Regions from separate parts of the Homo sapiens genome. Here region 1 is linked to region 2. The links are contacts of gene promoters, found by promoter capture Hi-C in blood cells and fetal thymus (Javierre and others, 2016). All regions are on one chromosome and are shown on one strand. Each heading gives the region's core, a stretch centred on a gene start or on the middle of the fragment in contact. The rest is flanking DNA. Distances are from core to core; before and after follow the strand shown.

Region 1 (6,789 bases), core at 2,482-4,981, 180 kb before region 2:
AACTTCATAATGAAGTAATATAATTGATTAATTAATTAAATCAGTATCAAAAGCATCCCAAATATTTTTTGAGGGAATAAAAAGACTACGTTCTTTACAGGGAAAATGATTTATTGTAGTCAAGAGTACCAGAGAAGGAGTGGGAAGCGAAATGGGACCGTGAAGGAAACCAATAAATTGTGAATTATTGTGATTATCCTAGGGGAAAAAGGCTTAATCCCATTTCAGAACACTGGGAGACAGTGTAGACCATACTACAGAATTACCCCAGCTGATTGATAGATGAGGAAACTGGGGTATTTATTTATCTACCGCCTTTTTATCATTGGTGTTGTTTTCATTTTTTTTTATTGTGATGAGAACACTTGGCATGAAATCTGCCCTCTTAATAGACTTTTAAATGTAAAATACAGTAATGCTATCTATAGACACAAAGTTGTGTATCCTGTATAATTGAAATATTGTGGCCAGGCTCAGTGGCTCACTCCTGTAATCCCAGCACTTTGGGAGCCCGAGGCGGGAGGATCATTTGAGATCTGGAGTTCGAGACCAGTCTGACCAACACGGTGAAACCCCGTCTCTATTAAAAATACAAAAAATATTAGCTGGGTGTGGTGGTGCACACCTGTAGTCCCAGCTACTCAGGAGGCTAAGGCAGGAGAATCACTTGAACCCAGAAGGTGGAGGTTGCAGTGAGCTAAGATCGTGCCACTGGACTCCAATCTGGGTGACAGAGTGAGACTCCATCTCAAAAAAATAAAAATAAAAATAAAAATATTTTGCCTATTGATTAGCAACTTTCCATTTTCCCCATCCCCCCGCCCCTGACAATAACTATTCACCCTCTGTTTCTATGAGTTTGCCTATTTTAGACGCTTCATATAAGTGCAATTATGCAGTATTTGTCCTTTTCTGACTGGCTCATTTCACTTACTATAATGTCCTCAACATTTATACATGTTGTTCCATGTTGCAGGCTTTCCTTCTTTTGTATAACTAAATAGTATTCTATTACATGTCTATATGACATTGTTAAAAATCCATTAATCTGTCAGTGAACACTTAGTTTTTATTTCCACAGCTTGGCGATTATAAATAGTGCTGCAATGAATATGGGAATGGTAATATCTCTTTGACATCCTGACTTCAGTTCTTTTGGACAAATACCCAGAAGTGGGTTTGCTGAATCCTATGCTAGTTCTATTTTTAATATTTTGAAAAATCTCCATGCTGTTTGTCATAGTGGCAGCATCATTTTGCATTCCCCTCCAACACTGTATAAGGATTCAAATTTCTTTACATTTTATCAACATGTGTTGTCTTTGTGTGTGTGTGTGTGTGTGTGTATTTTTATAATAGCCATCCTAACAAGTGTGAGGTGATATCTCATGGTGGTTTATATTTGCATTTCCCTGATGACTAGTGACTGGGCATCTTTTCATAAACTTGTTGGCCATTTGTATGTCCACTTTGGAAAAATGTGTATTCAAGTCTTTAGCCCAATTATTTAAGCAGGTTACTAGTTTTTTTACTGTTGTGTTATAGGAGTTTCTTATATATAAGTCTTCTTACATATTTTGGAAATTAACCCTTTATCAGAAATATGGTTTGCAAATATTTCCCCATTTTATAGGATGTCTTTTCACTCTGTTGATTGTTTCTTTTCTGGTAGAAGCTTTTTAGTTTGAGGCAGTCCCACTTGTCTATTTTGCTTTGTTACCTATGCTTTTTTTGGTGTCATATCCACAAAATCATTGTCAAGGCCAACGTCATGAAGATTTCTCCCTATGTTTTCCTCTAGGGGTTTTATAGTTCCAGGTCTTACCTTTAAGGCTTTAATCCATTTTGAGTTGATTTTTGTGTATGGTATAAAATAAAGGTCCAATTTTATTATTTTGCATGTGGATATCCAGTTTTCTCAACACCACTTGTTGAAGAGACTATCCTTTCCCCATTGTGTATTGTTGACATCATTGTTAAAGATCAGTTGACCATATATGTGTGGGTTTACTTCTGGGTAACTCGTCTATATTTCTGTCTTTATCCCACCACCACACTGTTTTGATTACTATAACTTTGTGTTATATTTTGAAATCAGAAACTGTGATGCCTCCACCTTTGTTAGTTTTCAAGATTGCATTGACTGTTCAGGTTCTTTTGTGGCTCCATGTGAATTGTGGAATTGGGTATTTTTTTCTATTTCTATAAAAAATGCCATTGGGATTTTGACAGGAATTGCATTGATCTATAGATCGTTTGGGGACATTTTAACAATATTAAGTCTTCAAATCCATGAATGTAGGATGTCTTTCCATTTGTTTGGTCTTCTTTAATTTCTTTTATCAATGTTTTGTAGTTTTCAGGATATACTTCCCTAGTTAATTTCATTCCTAAAAATATTTTTTATGTTATTGTAAATGAGATTGCTAATTTCTCAGACAGTTCATTATTAGTGTATAGAAATGTAATTGATTTTTGTATGTTAATTTTGTATTTTACAACTTTACTCAATTTATTAGTTGTAACAGTTTTTTAGTGGAGTCTTTGGGCTTTTCTATATAAAATCATGTCATCTGCAAATAGGGACAATTTTACTTATTCCTTTCTAATTTGGTTACCTTTTGTTTCTTTTTCTTGCCTGGTTGCTCTGGCTAGGACTTCCAGTACTCTGTTGAATAGAAAGGACTGGGTATCCATGCCTTGTTTCTGATCTTAGTGGAAAAGCTTTCAGTTTTCACCACTGAATATGATGTTAGCTATGAGCTTTCTGTATGTAACATTTATTATGTTGAGGTACTTACTTCCTATTCCTAGTTTGTTGAGAGTTTTTATCATGAAAATGTGTTGAATTTTATCGAATTCTTCTGCATCTATTGAGATAGTCATGTGATTTTATCCTTTATTCTGTTAATGTGATGTATCGCATTAATTAATTTTCATATATTTATCCATCCTTGCATCCCAGGGATAAATCCCACTTGGACATGGTGTGTGACACTTTTAATATGCTGTTGAATTAGTTTGCTGGCATTTTGTTGAAGATTTTTGTATGTATGTTCATCAGGACTATTAGCCTATAGTTTTCGTATAGTGTCTTTGTTTAGCTTTGGTATCGAGGTTTTGCTGGGTTCATAAAAATGAGTTTGGAAGTGTTCCTTCCTTTTCAATTTTTGAAAAGAGTTTGAGAAAAATTGGCATCAATTCTTCTTTAAATGTTTGGTAGAATTCACCAGTGAAGCCATCTGGACCTGGAATTTTCTTTGTTGGGAGGTTTTTGATTACTGACTGCTATGGCTTGAGTGTGTACCCCAAAGTTCATGTGTTAGAAACTTAATCCCCAATGCAACAATGTTGAGAGGTAGGGCCTTTAAGGGGTGATTAGGGCATGAAGGCTCTGCCTTCATGAATGGGATAAAGGCATCAGCTTTATCACAGGAATGGGTTATTTATCATAGAAGTTGGTTCCTGATAAAGGGATGAGTTTGGCTTCTTTCTATTTACTTTCACCCTCTTACCCTTCTGAGTTCCACCATGGGATAATGCAGCACTAAGGCCCTCCAAGATGCCAACAGCATGCTCTTGGACTTCCCAGCCTCCAGAATTGTGAGCCAAATAAATTTCTTTTCTTTATAAATTACCCAGTTTCAGGTATTCTGTTGTAGCAACACAAAATGGACTAGGATGCCGATTCAATCTCCTTATTAGTTATGGCCTGTTCAGACTTTATACTTCTTCGTGATGCACGTTTGGTAGGTTATATGTCTAGGAATTTATCCATTTCTTCAAGATTATCCAGTTTGTTGGCATTCATAATAGTCCCTTATGATCCTTTTTATTCCTGTGGCATCAGTTGTAATGTTTCCTCTTTTACTTCTGATTTTATTTGAATTCTGTCTCTTTTTTCTTAGTCTAGCTAAAGGTTTGTCAACTTAAAAAAATCCAACTCTTGGTTATGATTATTTTTCTGTTGCTTTTCTATTATATATTTCATTAATTTCTGCTGTAATATTTATTATTTACTCCTTCTGTTAACTTTGGGCTTAGTTTGTTCTTCTTCTAGTTTGTTGAGGTGTAAAGTTAGAGATATTTTTTCTTTTTTAATGTAGGTATTTATTAGAAATGCTTTTGCTGCATCTAATTAGTTTGGTATATTGTGTTTTCGGTTTGTCTCAAGATGTTTTCTAATTTTCCTTTTGATTTCTTCTTTGACCCATTAGTTGCTCAAAAGCTATTGTATTGCAGTCTTATAAGTTAAGAACTTTTGACACACACACACACACACACACACACACATACATACACACACAGACACACACACACACACACACACACACACACACATATATATATACACACACATATAACAAACTTCCCATTTAAGATGTAGACTATTTTCATCTCTTCAGAAAATTATTTTGTGTCCCTTTATGATCTCCTGTCCCCTCTTCACAGCTCTCAGGCAACCACTGATCTGATTTCAGCCAATCACTGATCTGATTTCTATCATCATAGATTAGTTTTGCCAGTTCTATAAATTCTTAGAAATGCAATCATATGTATATAATCTCTTATATATGGACTATTTTGCGTAGAATAATGTATTTGATGTTTATCCATGTTGTTCTATGTATCAGTAGTTTGTTTCTTTCTACTGCTAAGAATTTCATTACATGGAAATACCCCAATGTATTTGTTTATTTATTTGTAGTTGGTGATTTGTGTTGTTTTCCAAGCTTTTTACAAATAAAGTTGCTATAAATATTTGTCTATAAGTTATTTATTTATTTATTTTTACATGCACTTTTTGTCTTGTGAGTAGATATCTAGGAACAGAATTGCTGAGTGGTTTGGAAAGTTTATATTTAACATTTAGAAATTTGCCAAACTGTTTTCCAAAGTTGCTGTACTATTTTGCAAGAGTGCCAGTTGTTCCAAATTCTCCAACAGTTGGAATTTTCAGTCCTTTTACTTTTAGCAATTATAATGGGTATACAATATTTCATGGTATTTATTTTCATTTCTCTGATGATTAATGATGTTGAAGATCTTTTCATGTGATTATTTGCCATTTAGCTCTTCTTTCATGAACTCTTTATTCACATTTTGCCTATTTTTGTTTTATCTTCTTACTGCTGAGTTGTAAGAGCTTTTACTATACTCTGGTTACAAGTTCTTTTCCAGATATGTGCATTGAAAATATTTTCTCCTGTTTGTGGCTTGTGTTTTATTTTCTTTTTTGAAGAACAGGTTTTAATTTTATATAAAGTCCAATTTATAATTTTTTGTAGCTAATAAAGTTAATATTTGTGTAAATCACGAAGTATAGATATCCATTTGTTTTTAAGACTCTAAATAGCTTAGTATTTATAATTGGTCATAGTTCAGATAATAACAAGCACAGGACAAAAGCCAACAAATGTGCATTTCAAAAGCTTAATTACAAAACAACATATCTTAAACCAAGAGTTTTGAGGTTTAGTAAATGGGTCACAGGTGCAAAGTAATCATTTTCTAAAGCAGAAGATGGCACGATATATCCATGTGTCCTATCCACATTGTTTTGCATTTAAAGCCTTGAGAAGGAGTCTTCTAGATGGTTTGCTTAGCATTTGTTTTTCCACCTGTTGACTCCTTCCCAGGAAGAGATTTGAAACACATGCTGCTCTAGTAATCTGCTTACATGTGACTAAGGCTGTAGGATAGCAAAGTAACTACAGGCTAACAAAAGTAATTTTGTTGATATTTATTTGAAAACGCAGATGAATGGCAGTTTTGAAAATAATGTAGAAACATGCAGAAAAGTGACCTTCTAACCCTGTTATGTTGGACAGAAGCATGGTGCTTCTCTACACCTTGCTAATGTATAGGCAGATTAGGGACAGACAGCGTAAGAGATTTCATAAACTCAGCTGGTCATGAACATCATCAGTCTGTGCCCTGGGTGTTAGAGGACCTATGTTTGAATTCATCTCACTTTGACTTTCAGTGAATAAATTACCCTTTCTGAGTATCTGTGTTTTACTTTGTAAAGTAGGGATGCTACCTTTGATGTTTGTTGTAATCACTAAATGATATAACACATGAGGAAACATCTAATACATGGCCTTGTCTTATCTGCAGAGGGTAAATACTCGATAGATGTTTGTTGAATCTGAATAAGTTGGATGTTCAAGGTTGTTATTTAAACCAGAATATTCTATTAAAGCTACCACAGGCTGTTAGTACCTTATCTCAAGGTAGCCTTTCAGACTTCTCTGTTACCTGGCCAGGATCCTCTGGGAATGTACTACCAGATAGTCACTTTTGAGCAGGAAAAAAAAAGTCCTATCAAAAAATGAAGAAGAAAATATCAGACATAAGGTATTTCCCAAAGTGGTTTTCATCTCTTGGTGGGGTTTCACCTCTGGAGTAGGTTTCACACTAGGCTTCACACTTGGGCAGGCAGAGTAGATTATTTTGGCTGGGTGACCTTGGAGGGAGAGAAAAAAAAGCCATAAGGGAAACATTAATGAGAAAGAAGCAGAATGCAAGGTCAGAAAGTCAATGTTTTCTTATTTCACATTTAGCCCTTATCTTAGATCATTAATGTTTCAACAGATTTTTCCACGTCACAGCTGGAAGACCTAACATTCTGCTGGATACTATAGACAATTCAGAAACCAGTGTCTATTCTCTGCAAAGAGTAAGCCAGATAGATATAAAATAGTGATTCAGGACCAAAATGATTGACAGACCATGAGCATTTTAGAGTTCAAAAGGAAGCGATATGGAGAATGGGGCTGCCCATGA
Region 2 (6,231 bases), core at 2,041-4,540:
AGCTTTTCTTATCTCTGTCATCAGCTCCAATGCTAACACCTCTCCCTTTTCCATCTCTCTTGCAAAACTCCCCACACAATTTCATTCACACACACACACAAATGTGCACACTTATACTGGTAAATAGAAAAACATCCCTGAAGCAGCTAGTTAACACTTATACCTTACCACTCACTATTCACATTGAGGTGTAAGAGTCGTCCAGGGTCCAGACTCTCGAACCCACTGTCTGGGCTTAAATCCTGGCTCTGGGACCTTGGAAATATTTTGCAATCTCACTTTGTAAGCATTTTCTCATCTGTAGAATGGAAACAATAATAGTATCTACCTTAGAGGGTTGTGGAAATGATTAATGACTTAATACATAAAAAGCTCTTTGAATGCAGTCTGGTACTCTAATCTTAAAGGCTATATAGTTGTTAGCTATTGTTACACCCTTCTTGCGCAAAGGGATATTCAGAGGCATCAAACTATGCCCAATATTCCAGAAGCCAAGAGTTTGAGAAAGAACAGGAATGGGATTCAAGTTTAAGGGAAGTGGGTAACCAAGAAGAGTCACCAGGGTGAAAGATCAAAGAAAAAAAAGGGCAAAAAGCAAACAGGAGATTGACAGAACTACAGAGAAATGGCAAAAGCTGGCATTTAACAGGGAAAAGGTAGACAGAGAACATAAGGGAAAGGAAGATAAAGAAGAAATGAAAAAGGGAAACATGAGTTAAAAGGTGAATATGTAAAGGAAAGACAGAAAAGAAGAGGAAAAGGGGATCAAGAACAACAAAGGAGATAAAAATTGGGAAAAGACCCCATTTGCAGTTTGAGTAGGTATCACGGGAAAAGGGTACGGAAGTGGGGAAGCTTGGGGCAGAAAGGATGGGGGGAGAGAGGAGCCTCAAAGAGATAACAGAAAAAAGCTTCATGTGTCATTTGCAGCTTTTTGTCCCTTTAAATTATGGGGTGCTGCAAGCTTATTTAACCCACCTTTGAGCCTCAAGGCTCCTGATCGTGTTCCTCCTATTTCAACTTGCATTTAATCTCTGCCCCAGACTTAGCTTCTAAGGTTTGCCCTGGTCAGATGTCTGCCTTGTGTTTTTAGCCCGACGAGGCCAAAATGCAATGATCTTGTCTTTATTTCATTTTCCCTAACCAGTCATCCTTTTCAAGTGAAATTTAGCTCTGGAGCAAATATTTACATCCCCTTTCTACTCCAAACATTCAGAAATCTAGAAGGGGACCTGGTGTTTTAATTTTTAAATTATTCACCTAACGGCATTCCCATTTTTAGTCAATTAAAAAGAGGTAAAAATGATACAGTACTGCAGGAATAGGTCGCTTTTAGGGCTCCAACGTGCCCTCCCCATCGAAGGGTCTTAATTACCTAACCTTTTGGAAATAGGAGAGAGGTCGGACCGAGATTTAAAATAAAGTCAGCATTTTAAAAATACTTTTTAAATTAAGAACCATCGTGATTAAATTGCCTGTTTGGTGCAAAATACGTTCCTCTATTTGAGGAAGTCGAGAGACCTTAAAAGGCCCTCTAAACAGATGAACTGAACGGACCGCGAGCGTCTCCTCACGCCGGGGTGATCCTGGGCCGCCGCCGCCGCCCGAGTCACGAAGCCAGACGCAGTGCGCGTCTCCGCCCAGGACTCCGGAGACTGCAGCAGCGCGAGCGGCCGCCGCGGCCCGGGCTGCTCCTGGAGTCGGGGAGGAGACGCGACTCCCGCAGACACGTGACCTCCTCCCAGCCGCCGCTTCCCGCGACCCAGATCCGTCCCCGGAACCCGTGCCCGGCGGGGCGGGCCGGGGGACACGTAGCGGGCGCCCCAGTCCCTGCTGCGCCCTGGTGCATGTACCTTTGGCGTTCTTCTCCCCTCGGTTCACTTATCACCGGCAATAATCAACGTTTCAGAGATCACCCCGGGGAGAATGTAAATATCCCTCTCTGTGCAGGAAAAACCTTGGTTTTTTTCTCTATGTCTTTATGTATATCTAGAGAAATATATATATAGCCTCCATCCCACCCCTGGGAGTCCCTCAGGACATGCCTTCCCCTGGGCTGGCAGGGCGGCGTGGGCAGTGCGCATCCCCGGGCACCTCCCGGTAACTCTCACTAGCAGTGAGTCATGCTCCCAGGGTGGCTCTGGGGAAAGGTAACCCGGCTCTTGCTGGCCTGTGATTCCCGGCGCCGAGCGCCGCGGCTGCAGGGCGAGCGCGCGCGCGCACGGGTTCCCCGAGCAGTGATGTGGCAGCAGCGGCAGGTCGGATCACGTTGCTGGCCCTGTGCTGGTACCCGTTTGAGACCGGATTAAGGAGGGAGGCTTTGGAGGTGCCAGCGGTAGTAAACGTGGGCTCTGCACACTCCGGGCGTCTCTTATCGCGCGGGGGGGCGGGGGGATGGGGAAAGCACGTAGCGTCACCGGAGGCTCAGAACGCGGCAGAGTTGAGCGGGCGGGTGATAAATGCTGCATAGCTTTTCTGTGGTAGCCCCTCTCGTGCCACCCCCTCTCGTGCCACCCCCTTCTCCCTTCCCAGCCCCCACTCAACCCCGGCTCGCTCCCCGCCGCGTTCCTCCAGGAGCACACGCGGCCCCAAACGTCGTCATCTGCTGCTGTGATTAGTGGCACCGCAATTCCGGCTGCTGCGGGGAAGTTTAGTTGGCCCAGGGACGCCGTGTCACCGAAAGACACTTGGATTGCGACATTCGGACCCAGTGACAACGTTTTCATGTATCTTAAATCCTTCAAGGAGCGGATTGCAAGTTGCTTCTTCTCGAGGCAACCTCTCCACCCAGCGCCAAGGAGTCCCTCCAGGCCACTGATCAGTGAGCAAACAAGTCTCCAAAATTTCCTTTGGGACTCAAGTTTACCCACCGCGAATTCTCTTTTCACTTCCTTTCTATGGTTCAAACCAACAGCACAATCGGTGGAAAAGCAAAAAGCCACGTTCACATTCCTGCACCGTAACAACGGACGAACCCAGGGAGTCGCATTTTGGAGCCAAGGAAGCTCAGGCTGCCCCGCACCCCTGCACCCCCACTCCCCCCTCCTCCTGCCGACTGCATCGCCTTTGGGAAGATGAATAGCTTGGCCGAAGTTGTTTTTCCTTTCCGGTGGCCCTGATCAGGTGTCCCCGCCCCCTCCTGCCGTTCGCCTTCTCTCGCCGCCTTCTCCCGACGCCCCCGCCCGGCCCGGCCCCTCCTCCCCCGCCCCCCTCCGGGCTGGACCGCGGATGGTACGTTCCGCACGTGAGCTGGGTGCTGGTCTGGCCGGCGACGCGCGTGCCCTGTGGCCAAACACTGCCTGGAGTGAGAGCAAACTACCAGCGCAGTGGGGCCGGCGCGAGTGTGCGTGTGTGTGCGTGTGTGTGTGCGAGCGCGGTGGAGGGGGGGGACCAACTGCTTCACACTTTCAACACTGCACTGAAGAGGGAGAGCGAGAGAGAGACTGGAGACGCACAGATCCCCCCAAGGTCTCCCAAGCCTACCGTCCCACAGATTATTGTACAGAGCCCCAAAAATCGAAACAGAGGAAACGAACAGCAGTTGAACATGGACGAAGGAATTCCTCATTTGCAAGAGAGACAGTTACTGGAACATAGAGATTTTATAGGGTAAGGTGCACGCACCCTTGCGAATATCTGTCTAGGCTTTGGTTTGATTTTTTTCTTCTCCAGAAAGTGGTATGGAGCTGGCGAGGGCAGAGCCCCTCCCCGAATGGGTGCCTGATGCTGATTTCTGTTTTGCAGACTGGACTATTCCTCTTTGTATATGTGTAAACCCAAAAGGAGCATGAAACGAGACGACACCAAGGTAAGTGTAAGTTCCCGATATTCCTCATAACCTGCATGGGTAGTTAATTAGAGCCATTGATTTCACAGTGAAGCTCTGCCCGCAAATATATTCCAGCCCCTGAGCTTCCCCAACTGTGAATTTTAAGTGGCTTGCTGGGTACTCTCAGGGGGATATTAAACATCATACCTGAATTTAAATTGCATTGCAGAACAGTCCAGAGGAAAGAGGTTTCTTGGGTGTAGTTTATCACATAGTATGTTTTATGGTGGGGGGGCGGGGGGGGCAGACGAGGGTAATATCCAATAAGTGAATGTTTCGCTTACTGTTTTCTCTTTTCCATGACTCTCATATATTAAGGATACCTACAAATTACCGCACAGATTAATAGAAAAGAAAAGAAGAGACCGAATTAATGAATGCATTGCTCAGCTGAAAGATTTACTGCCTGAACATCTGAAATTGACAGTAAGATGCACATTTTCATTCTTTGCTGCTCTCCAAGGGCGTGTTAATAGTCTGGTGCGACTCCCAGAAAATATAAGAATAAATGTAAATATAAGTTCCTGACTTAAAACTTGTGCTATACCGTACAGAGTTTCCCGCAAACTGGAGTAGGTGCTCCCAGCTGAAGGCAAGAAATCATTTATAACCTGTCTTGTGGAAAGCTCAAGAAGTAAAAGAACAGTACTTCTTTCAAAGTGTTTGCTTAAATTGCTGTGCTGAATGGACAGCCAATTAAGCCAAATGTGTGTTTTTAAGTAACCAAGTGCCCGTTTCTTTTTTGCACCACTGCAGACTCTGGGACATCTGGAGAAAGCTGTAGTCTTGGAATTAACTTTGAAACACTTAAAAGCTTTAACCGCCTTAACCGAGCAACAGCATCAGAAGATAATTGCTTTACAGAATGGTAAGTCAGTTCAGGGAGGCCAGCCTACCCTGATGAAGCGGGGCAGCCCACAGGGGAGCAGTGTCAGGACTCCCTCACCCGCACCCCATCTCTTTCCGTGGGCTCATGGGTTCCCTCTCATTTGTTAAATTGCTTATACTTTCCCTTCATTGGAACGAGCCCATTTCCCGAAGCATCCTAGAGGCTTTCAGCAGAACTCGGAGGAATCAGGATTTAAAGTGGCGGTTGCACCCGCTCCACTTTGGTTTTCAGCTGGGAGGAGAGCGCCCTCTCCCCGCTCCGCACCTCCGCCACCCCGCTTCTCTCGTCAACTGGTGGATTATATCACTTGAATACTGGGGAAAAACCGAGATCACTTTAGTCGATGCAGGGCCCACGTGATAAGCAGATGTTTTAACGTGGGTATGTTTCTTCTTGCCTCCACTCCTCCGTCCCCCACCCCCATCCCTTCCTCATCCTAGGGGAGCGATCTCTGAAATCGCCCATTCAGTCCGACTTGGATGCGTTCCACTCGGGATTTCAAACATGCGCCAAAGAAGTCTTGCAATACCTCTCCCGGTTTGAGAGCTGGACACCCAGGGAGCCGCGGTGTGTCCAGCTGATCAACCACTTGCACGCCGTGGCCACCCAGTTCTTGCCCACCCCGCAGCTGTTGACTCAACAGGTCCCTCTGAGCAAAGGCACCGGCGCTCCCTCGGCCGCCGGGTCCGCGGCCGCCCCCTGCCTGGAGCGCGCGGGGCAGAAGCTGGAGCCCCTCGCCTACTGCGTGCCCGTCATCCAGCGGACTCAGCCCAGCGCCGAGCTCGCCGCCGAGAACGACACGGACACCGACAGCGGCTACGGCGGCGAAGCCGAGGCCCGGCCGGACCGCGAGAAAGGCAAAGGCGCGGGGGCGAGCCGCGTCACCATCAAGCAGGAGCCTCCCGGGGAGGACTCGCCGGCGCCCAAGAGGATGAAGCTGGATTCCCGCGGCGGCGGCAGCGGCGGCGGCCCGGGGGGCGGCGCGGCGGCGGCGGCAGCCGCGCTTCTGGGGCCCGACCCTGCCGCCGCGGCCGCGCTGCTGAGACCCGACGCCGCCCTGCTCAGCTCGCTGGTGGCGTTCGGCGGAGGCGGAGGCGCGCCCTTCCCGCAGCCCGCGGCCGCCGCGGCCCCCTTCTGCCTGCCCTTCTGCTTCCTCTCGCCTTCTGCAGCTGCCGCCTACGTGCAGCCCTTCCTGGACAAGAGCGGCCTGGAGAAGTATCTGTACCCGGCGGCGGCTGCCGCCCCGTTCCCGCTGCTATACCCCGGCATCCCCGCCCCGGCGGCAGCCGCGGCAGCCGCCGCCGCCGCTGCCGCCGCCGCCGCCGCGTTCCCCTGCCTGTCCTCGGTGTTGTCGCCCCCTCCCGAGAAGGCGGGCGCCGCCGCCGCGACCCTCCTGCCGCACGAGGTGGCGCCCCTTGGGGCGCCGCACCCCCAGCACCCGCACGGCCGCACCCACCTGCCCTTCGCCGGGCCCCGCGAGCCGGGGAACCCGGAGAGCTCTGCTCAGGAAGAT

Evidence for each region. The method cuts DNA at HindIII sites, captures the fragments that hold promoters and counts their contacts. A CHiCAGO score of 5 or more calls a contact.
Region 1: a contact is called between a fragment that was not itself captured here and the fragment with the promoter of BHLHE41 in region 2, in 1 of 17 cell types (M2 macrophages). The highest score is 6.6, in M2 macrophages.

The regions. Positions count from the first base shown.
Region 1 is chr12:26,303,290-26,310,078 of GRCh38, reverse strand. LOC105369705 (a long non-coding RNA gene) reads right to left here. Exons shown (of 6, transcript XR_007063249.1): 5 at 6,226-6,469. Among named protein-coding and RNA genes, the nearest start is that of ITPR2-AS2, 12 kb to the left of the region's middle. The HindIII fragment of the contact is 2,009 bases long and covers 2,727-4,735 here.
Region 2 is chr12:26,122,096-26,128,326 of GRCh38, reverse strand. BHLHE41 (basic helix-loop-helix family member e41) reads left to right here and starts at 3,290. Exons shown (of 5, transcript NM_030762.3): 1 at 3,290-3,609; 2 at 3,745-3,808; 3 at 4,148-4,255; 4 at 4,586-4,697; 5 at 5,159-6,231. The coding sequence starts at 3,548. It also overlaps a transcript of SSPN not described here. RefSeq lists a silencer at 1,709-1,878. The HindIII fragment of the contact is 3,679 bases long and covers 967-4,645 here.